Regions from separate parts of the Homo sapiens genome. Here regions 2 and 3 are each linked to region 1. Evidence: promoter capture Hi-C in 16 types of primary human blood cells and fetal thymus (Javierre and others, 2016). All regions are on one chromosome and are shown on one strand. Each heading gives the region's core, a stretch centred on a gene start or on the middle of the fragment in contact. The rest is flanking DNA. Distances are from core to core; before and after follow the strand shown.

Region 1 (3,006 bases), core at 145-2,644:
CCTTAAACAAATCTGATATTTAAAAAAAAAACCAAAAACAGTATCAAGTGGTAGCTTCATTCTATTTGTCCACCTTTAGGGCTAATTTTATATACCTACACCTCTGGAAAAAGTTACTACTGTCAGATTTGCTCCCAAACTTTGAGAATTGTCATTATGGTCTGCAGCATTAAACCTAGATTATAAATTATCAATGTCACTTGATTATAAATTATCAATGTCACTCAACTGAATCACACCAAGCAACGACAAATGTAGATTTCATTAAGAGATACTGTTAAAATCACATTCAGACCTCAGAAAGGCAAGATCCCATAACCCAGTCACAAACACAGCTTCAAACGCTTCCCCAACTTTTCAAGCTTTGGGGCGCCAAGTCACTGGGAGTTAACAGCTTAAACATGGGGTTCAATACAACTGACCAAAGGAAGTGAAGAAAACAAAGCATACATTAATTTCAGCACCAAAAATATGGATTTGCGAATTACATCTACTGCTAATAAACAGATCATTCTTTACAGCCTAAGTACGCCAGGCATTTTTTTATGTTTAAATGGCTTGCCACAAATTGTCCTAGTCGAAACTGATGGCAAAATCCTAAACTGATCTTCGGCGAGGAGACACTCTGCATAGAGCATCACACAAAAGACAGGAGCGAACAGACACGCTCTGGGCCTCGGCGGATTGCGGCCAGGAGCCCAGGTTTTCGTCCCAGACCCCGGCAACAGGGAGGGAAATAAGGGCGGGGGAAAGAAGGAGTGGGAGTGGTATCCTTTTCCCTGAAAGCGCCTGGGAGTGAGGAGCAAAGAGGGAAGGAGCGAGTGCAGCACAGAGGAAGCAAGGAAAGCAGCCGACCGGCGTCAGCGGCTTCCAAGGCCGGCAACACCCTCGGGCCCGCACCAGGCCTGGCCCTCCCGGCTTCGTCCCACCTCCTCACCTCCCTCACATCCTGCAGGCACTCGAGCACCGCCAGGTTGTTGCTCCAGGTGTGCTTAGGGCACACGCGGGTCACGTCCTCCCTGCAGGACTCTTCCTCCGCCAGCTTCCAGCCCCCACCAGCCCCCGCTCCTCCCCGCCGGGCCGGAGGCCCACCCGCCGGGAAAGGCGGCTGCGGCGGCTGAGGCTGCTGTTGCTGTTGCTGCTGCTGCTGTTGCTGCTGAAGCTGCGATGACTGAGGCAGCTGGGGCAGCTGCTGACCCGCCGGGCCGCCGCCTCCGGCCTGCCCTACGAAGGACACAAAGTTGGCCCCGGGACCCTGGCCCTGGCTGTGGACGCCCTGGCCGGGGAGTTTCTCGGCCCCGGCCGCGAATAGCAGCAGCAGATGCAGCGCCGCCGACAAGCGGAACATCCTCCGTACACGTCCACACGCCGCCATCTTGAGTCCGCGGCGAGCTCGACGCACTCGCCGGCGCCGCGTATTTAAATGAGGGGGTGGAGACGCTGGGCGTGGCAGCGTGGCCCTGCCGAGCCCCGCCCCGCCGGCGCCGACCCGCGAACCCAGAGTGGGGCGAAGGAGGAGGCCGTGCTGGAAACCGCACACACCCTGGACCGGCGGGCGGGAGAGCGGCGCTCCTTACCCGGGGGGGTTGCTGGGGTTTCTTAAAAAGCCCGGGCAGGGCGGCCTACTCTAATTCCATTTGCTGTCACAAAAAAAAAAATCAAGGGAATTGGGGTTGCCACAACCAAAATGGCCGGTAGAATATGTCGCCGGTTCAATGACTTGGAAAACAAAAACTTTATATGTAGAGGTGAACTTTGCACAACCAGGTGTATTACGGAATCGGAAAGCCTCTCCTTGTATCGCTCCCTCCTTCCTTCCTTCCTTCCATCTGCCTCAGAAGTCTTTCTTAGCCAAAGAGAGAGACAGCATTGAATAGGGTTAAGAGCATAAGTTCTGGGGTAAGAAAAAAAATTAAGGTTATAATCCTTGCTCTGGCAGGGTACGCAAGAGCTCAAATGTAAAGTACCATTGGCAAGATTCGAAATAATAATTTAAGTGCCTGGCCCACAACACTGAACTCAAAAAGTCACAGCCAGTATTGTTAATAAACTGGGAAGCCGTTTATGCATGAATCCTGATTTTAAGCCAGCATTTAGATTCATGTTTAAAGGATGAAAAAATAATAATAAAACACATCTTTGAGGACTCGGGTTAAGTCTGTGTGTCGGTAACTGTTCTCATTGACCTGCATGCAACACCGCAGGCACCCCACACTAGCATCCCCTCCCTGTCCTTAGGAGAGAGGATATGTTCCCAAAGCCTCTTCACATCCGCTGTGTAATCTGAGCCATGCATCAGGCCTGCGTTAGGTTCTCATTTAACTGAAGAATGGCACAGAGATGTTAACAGTTCTGCGTGGAGGGATTAAATGAGCTGCCCAAGAGGAACTCTGCCATCCTGTAGACAGCTAGGCTAGCCACCAGAATCCCTGGGGCTTCCCACCACCCTGGCGCACTTTCATCCCACTCTGTCCATGCACATGTTGGGGAATGAGGGCAGTTTGGGTTGTGTAATCTCCACTGGTCATTGTGTCCAAAAATGCGAATTACATCTACTGTAGTAAACAGACAGCTTCTGCTGTCCTGACCCGCAAATGAGCAGTCAAGACCAAGTTAGACATAACTAGAACCTGAAAAGTCAGGAGCTCAGGGAACCCAAAAGGAGCTCCTGAGACTGAAGATATTCTGTGAGTACAAATTACCCACTGTGGCTGACCCCAGGCCTCTATCATGGGGAATGAGAGCTTGTTGGCATCTCCACCAACGGTCACCTTTGCTACTGTCATAAAATGATCATGAGGCTGCTGCTAACCTTGAGCACTGACTAAGGCAGCCCCATGTTTATTAGCAAACACATGGCATAGGTAAGTTTCAGTCAGGCAGGCTGGACACATCACCAGAAGTCCTTGAGATGTCACTAGCGTATGTTAATTTTTTTTTTTTTTTTTTGAGACGGAATCTCACTCTGTTGCCCAGGCTGGAGTGCAGTGGCGTGATCTCTGCTCG
Region 2 (3,006 bases), core at 137-2,636, 870 kb after region 1:
AGCTAGGGGACACAGGGTCTGTGGTGGCCATGAGGAGTTGATACAGTGTTGATGTGGATAATATATCTTCTTGATGCAAAATAACAAAAATAAGGCCCACCATTGATTCCCCAACAGCCTCTTGATAGGTGGGTTCTCTGACCTATTCCAGGCAACACTGTTTCTATGCACCCATCAGCCCATCTAGTGCTTTGATTGCCCCTTCTGAGCTCCCACAGCCAGAGCAGAGGCAGCAAGCGTGCCTGCCCCTAATTGTGGGTGACTGCTGGGCCTAGACACTTCTAGCTGCATCACAGGGCCTACAGGTAAGGGGAGACACTAATTACAGCCCTACCAGCAGGGAGGGAGCCTGGACCCTGGTGGAAATTGGAAGCTGCAGGTGCCAGGAGCCCTCCGTTCTCAAGTGTATCGGTTAGGCAATGCTACGTAACAAACCACCACAACACTCAAATGACTGAAACACAATAAGCACTTTTATTGCTCCTAAAGTCTTCGACTTGGCCGCAGTGCTGGGCTCAGCTGGCCTCGCTCATATGTCTTTATAGCTACTCTTCTCAAGTGGTGGACTCAGTTTCCCCACCTCTGAATCTGGGTGAGCCCTGGGACTCCCTTTGGCCAGTAGAAGGTAGCCGAAGTGGCTGCGTGCGGATCAGCTGGAGCTGGCTGGTCTAGGATGGCCTGGTTTGGGACCCCTGAACTCTCCTTCTCATGGTCTCTGCTTGTCCAGCAGGCTGGCCTGGGCTTTCTCCCGGGCAGAGGCGGAGGTCCGAAGCAAAGGAGCAGCACGCAGGTTCTCTTCAGGTGGAGGAAAGCAGAGGCGTCAGCTCAGACTATGCCTTTTTCACATAAAAAATGATTTTCAGCTGAAGGCAATTAAGAAGCAGAAAGTGCAGGAAAAGTTCAGGTTTCCCTCCCCTTTTCTGCCTAAAGGCACGATATAAACTCTCCATCACTGGACACAACCCTTGACTCAGAGGTGGTACCAGAGGCTGCTGCAGACAAATCCTGTTGCATCAGCTTCCTCTCGGATATTTACCATCCCATAGTTTACCACCTTTGGAAGCCTAAAACTGTTGTCCTTGGTCATCCTATCTCTACAAATTTATTGTATTTTTTAAAAATGCTGTGTAAGACAGTGTTCCAAGCCATCACTTTGTTACTTTTCATTGAGGCTTATCCTGAGTGATGTTGGCTGCCTGTGTTAACAAACTGTTTTTCGCCAGGTACAGTGGCTCATGCCTGTAATCCTAGCACATTGGGAGGCCAAGGCAGGTGGATCACCTGAGGTCAGGAGTTCCAGCCCAGCCTGATCGACATGGTGAAACCCCATCTCTACTAAAAATACAAAAAAAATTAGCCGGGCGTGGTGGTGTACATCTGTAATCCCAGCTACTCGGGAGGCTGAGGCAGGAGAATCGCTTGAAACTGGGAGGCGGAGGTTGCAGTGAGCCAAGATGGCGCCACTGCACTCCAGCCTGGGGGACAAGAGCAAGACTCTGCCTCAAAAAAACAGAAACAAAAACATTGTTTTTCTTTGTGAATCTGTCTTTTCATTAAAAAGTCTCTCTTAATCTGTTTTGTTTTGCTATAACAATACCACAGATGGGGTCATTTATTTAGAGATAGGTGTCTTGCTCTGTCACTCAGGCTGGAGTGCACTGGCATGATCATGGTTCAATGTAGCCTCAACCTCCCAGGGTCAAGCAGTCCTCCCAACTCAGCCTCCCAAGTAGCTAGGACTACAGGTGCACGACACCATGCCCTGCTAATTTTTTTTTAACTTTGTAGAGATGGGGTCTCACTATGTTGCCCAGGCTGGTCTTGAGTGCCTGGTCTCAAGTGATCCTCCTGCCTCAGCCTTGCAAAGTATTGGGATTACAGGCGTGAGCCACTGAACCCAGCAAGGGTCATATATAATAAATAGAAGTGTATTGGCTTACAGTTCTGGAGGCTGGGAAGCCCAAGATCAAGGAGCCAGCATCTAGCGAGAGCCTTCTTGCTGTGTCCTAGCATGATGGAAGGCATCATATGGCAGAAGGGCAAAGTGAGGGCGAGAGAAAGACAAAGAATGAACTCCTTCATTTAAAAGGCACCACTCTCAGGATAACCAACTCACTCCTGAAATAATGGTGGTTTTTTTTAAGACAGACTCTCGCTTTGTTGCCCAGGCTGGAGTACAGTGGTGCGATCTCAGCTCACTGCAATCTCTGCCTCCTGGGTTCAAGCGATTCTCCTGTCTCAGCCTCCCAAGTAGCTGGCCTTACAGGCATGTGCCACCACACCTGGCTAATTTTTGTATTTTAACTAGAAATGGTGTTTTACCTTGTTGGCCAGGCTGGTCTCAAACTCCTGACCTCAAGTAATCCGCACACCTCAACCTCCCAAAATGCTGGGATTACAGACATGAGCTACCATGCCTGCGCCCAGAAATAATGTTCTCTACCCATTCACAAGGGCATAACCCGCACGGCGTAATTTACTTTCCATCAAGCCTCACCTCACAACACTGGGGATCAAGGTTCCAACTTTGGGAGACACAATCAAATCACAGCAGAGCCCCAGCTGAAAACCTAAGACAGGTGGAGGTAAAGTTTTGCTTCCAAGGCCTATGCTTCAAACTGGCTCACAGGAAGTTGCACTACACTTGTCTACAGGACAAAGCAAGTCACAGGACCAGCCTGGATTCAGAGGTGGAGAAACAGACTCTACTTCTTGATGGCAGGAGCCATGGTCACACAGCACAGAGTGTCAACACAGCAAACCACTAACAGTGGTCAATGCAGTCACCCCCACAGCAACCCAGAGCTCTGTGCCCTGTCACAGCATTGGGCAGTCCCCAGTGATTAAACCTTCCTGTTGGGACTGCACTCTCACAGAGATATAAGACATACGTGATCAGCACAAGTATGTACCTACCCAGCCCTGGCTTTACTGTGCCTAGTCAGCCAGGCCACTTTCTTTGTCCTGAAAGCTGACCTGGGTTCACTGTGAGGCTTGACTGTACTG
Region 3 (3,006 bases), core at 305-2,804, 850 kb after region 1:
GGGTTCACACGATTCTCCTGCCTCAGCCTCCCGAGTAGCTGGGACTACAGGCACCCGCCACCGCGCCTGGCTAATTTTTTGTATTTTTAGTAGAGACGGGGTTTCACCATGTTAACCAGGATGGTCTCGATCTCCTGACCTCATGATCCGCCCGCCTCGGCCTCCCAAGTGCTGGGATTACAGGCGTGAGCCACCGCGCCCAGTCAAAAATTTTTATTTTTAAAGACGGGGTCTCACTCCGTCACCCAGGCTGCAGTGCAATGGCACCATCATGGCTCACTGCAGCCTTGACCTCCTAGGTCTGGGTGTTCTCCCGCCTCAGCCTCCGGAGTGGCTGGAACTACAGATGTGTGCTACCACGCCTGGCAAAATTCTTTTTTTTTTAATTTTCTTTTTTTATGAGACAGGGTCTCACTACTCTGTTGCCCAGGATGGAGTGCAGTGGGAGTTTCGCCAGGCTGGTCTCAAACTCCCAACCTCAGGTGATCTGCCCGCCTTGGCCTCCCAAAGTGCTAGGATAACAGGCATGAGCCACTGCGCTTGGCCTGTATTTTCTTTAGAGATGGGGTCTCACCGTGTTGCCCAGGCTGGTCTTGAATGCCTCGGCTCAAACAATCCGCCCAACTTGGCCTCCTAAAGGGCAGGGATTACAGGTGTGAGGCCACCGCACCCGGCCTTCAACATCATTTACTTGCAAAGTAGGGTTCATCAGTCAAATATCCAAATATTGACGGTTTTAGTGTGTTCAACAAATTACTGCCTACAGACCCACCACCTGTTTTTTACACACTTATCTGAACCCATTCATAATACTTTTATACATACACACTTATCTGAAACCATTTACAAGAGTTTTGCACACACATACTTATTCAACCCATGCCCTTTCATTTAAGTATTGTTTATGGCTGCCTTCCAGCTTCAAGGGCAAAGCTGATAACAGTGACACAGACCACATGACCCATAAAGCCTAACATATTTACTATCTGGCCCTTCACAGAAAAAGCTGACCAATCTCTGTACCCTCAAACTGAAAAAAAAGGTTCATCTAGATTTCAAAATTGACCTAAATAATGTCCCCGACCATAACTGGGCACGGCAGCTCACGACTGTAATCCCAACACTTCAGGTGGCCAAGGTGGGCAGGTCGCTTGAGCCCAGGAGTTTGAGACTAGCTTGGGCAATACAGCGAAACCCTGTCTCTACAAAAAATACAAAAATTAGCCTGGCATGGTATTGCATACCTGTAGTCCTAGCTACTCGAGAGGCTGAGGTGGGAGGATTGCTTGAGCCTGGGAGGCAGAGGTTGCAGTAAGTCAAGATCATGCTACTGCACTCCTGCCTGGGCAACAGGGTGAGACGGTCTCAAAAAACTCCCCCAAAAACCAAAAAACCCAAACAAAAATAATTCCCCCATAAGAGGCACAAGCCAAAGAGCCAATTGATACGGTACTATGCAATCAATGCCTGTTGATCTTTCCTGACCTTTTGATCACTCAGTCTTCTAAAATGGACAGCTATACAATTATATTCATTCCACAATCATTTGAAAGACAATGCAGTAAATATCAAGCCATCACCTCCTATTAGGATTTCAAAGCTCTTTAGGATATGAAATAAATACCAGAAAATATAAATGTTTGGCTTGAAGACAAATGGCAGGTAAACAACAGTGCAGGTTAGGAGAGCTGGCTCCTACAGAACTCTAATCACTCTTAAGGTGTCTGTAACTCAGGCAACATTAAGATACATATAATCATCAACTATGTATGAAAAACTATGCATGAGGCACCCATATAAAGAAAACAAAACCATCCTGCTGGAATGTGACTTTACAATTTGTTAAATGGCCCATGTAGCATTTCCCCCCAGTGAACCCAAGGCAAGGCCTTAGAATCCTCAAGGTAGCTCTCCAGCTACCCACAGGGAGGGACTGGCGGTGACACATTAGATAAAACCCACTGTCCATCCTTGGCTAGAGGCAGGTAAGTAGCAAGTGATTTTTGAGATCAGTGAAGAGCTTAGCTCAGCAGGGTTTCTTGACCACCGCCCTCCGCCCTATTGACATTTGGACCAGATAACTTTTCATTGTGGGGGCTGCACTGTGCACTGCAGGATATGGAGAGGCACCTCTGGCCTGCAGCACTCTATTCCCAGTTGTGTCAACCAAAAATATTTCCAGACATTGTCAAATGTCCCCAAGGGGGCAAAACTACCCTGATTAAAAACCACGGGCTTTACCAAAGCACAGAGGCTTTATAAGAGCCATGATGGCCGGGCGTGGTAGCTCACACCTGTAATCCCACCACTTTGGGAGGTCGAGGTGGGCTAATCACGAGGTCAGGAGTTCAAGACCAGCCTGGCCAACATAGTGAAACCCTGTCTCTCTAAAAATACACACACATACACACACACACAAAATTAGCCGGGCATGGTGGCAGGCACCTGTAGTCCCAGCTACTTGGGAGGCTGAGGCAGGAGAATCGCTTGAACCCAGGAGGCAGAGGTTGCAGTGAGCTCAGATCACACCACTGCACTCCAGCCTGGGAGACAGAATGACACTCCGTCTCAAAAAAATAAAAGAGCAATGACAGTTAAAGCTATAAAGACAGATGAGGGAAACCCTTTGGGGAATTTGACACCAGACTAAGGACTTCACAAAAGATCTAAAGTGCCAGTATAGGTTTTGAGCAGTAACGGTTGTCATGACATTATTCCACAGGCCCCACCTGACACTCCTAGTTGGAATACAAACTGGAAAACCACCTTTTTGCAGGGTAATTTGGAAGTCAAATGTGCATGGCCCTTGCTGCAACAATTTTACTTCCGGGGATACACCCCACAGAAAAGCATAGGTAGGCAAGGACAGAGGTAACAAGAAGGTCCCAACAGCATTGTCCATAATATCAAAAACTAGAAGTCACCTGCATGGCTATCACTGCAGAATTTGGAAAACACATTCTGTGCACCCACGTAATACTACAAAGTCCCATTAAAATATGCAAT

The links. Contacts are between HindIII fragments. The CHiCAGO score rates a contact against its expected background, and 5 or more counts as called.
Region 2: a fragment that was not itself captured here is called in contact with the fragment with the promoter of GLG1 in region 1 in 1 of 17 cell types (neutrophils); the score reaches 6.9 in neutrophils.
Region 3: a fragment that was not itself captured here is called in contact with the fragment with the promoter of GLG1 in region 1 in 1 of 17 cell types (activated CD4 T cells); the score reaches 7.3 in activated CD4 T cells.

Annotation. Positions count from the first base shown.
Region 1 is chr16:74,605,720-74,608,725 of GRCh38, forward strand. GLG1 (golgi glycoprotein 1) reads right to left here and starts at 1,395. Exons shown (of 26, transcript NM_001145667.2): 1 at 938-1,395. The coding sequence starts at 1,375. RefSeq lists silencers at 966-1,145, 1,376-1,565. The HindIII fragment of the contact is 13,128 bases long and covers 361-3,006 here.
Region 2 is chr16:75,472,673-75,475,678 of GRCh38, forward strand. CHST6 (carbohydrate sulfotransferase 6) reads right to left here. Exons shown (of 3, transcript NM_021615.5): 3 at 1-3,006. Among named protein-coding and RNA genes, the nearest start is that of TMEM170A, 9.5 kb to the left of the region's middle. The HindIII fragment of the contact is 3,555 bases long and covers 1-3,006 here.
Region 3 is chr16:75,452,065-75,455,070 of GRCh38, forward strand. All of the region lies in intron 1 of TMEM170A (transmembrane protein 170A), which reads right to left. Among named protein-coding and RNA genes, the nearest start is that of TMEM170A, 11 kb to the right of the region's middle. The HindIII fragment of the contact is 4,371 bases long and covers 1-3,006 here.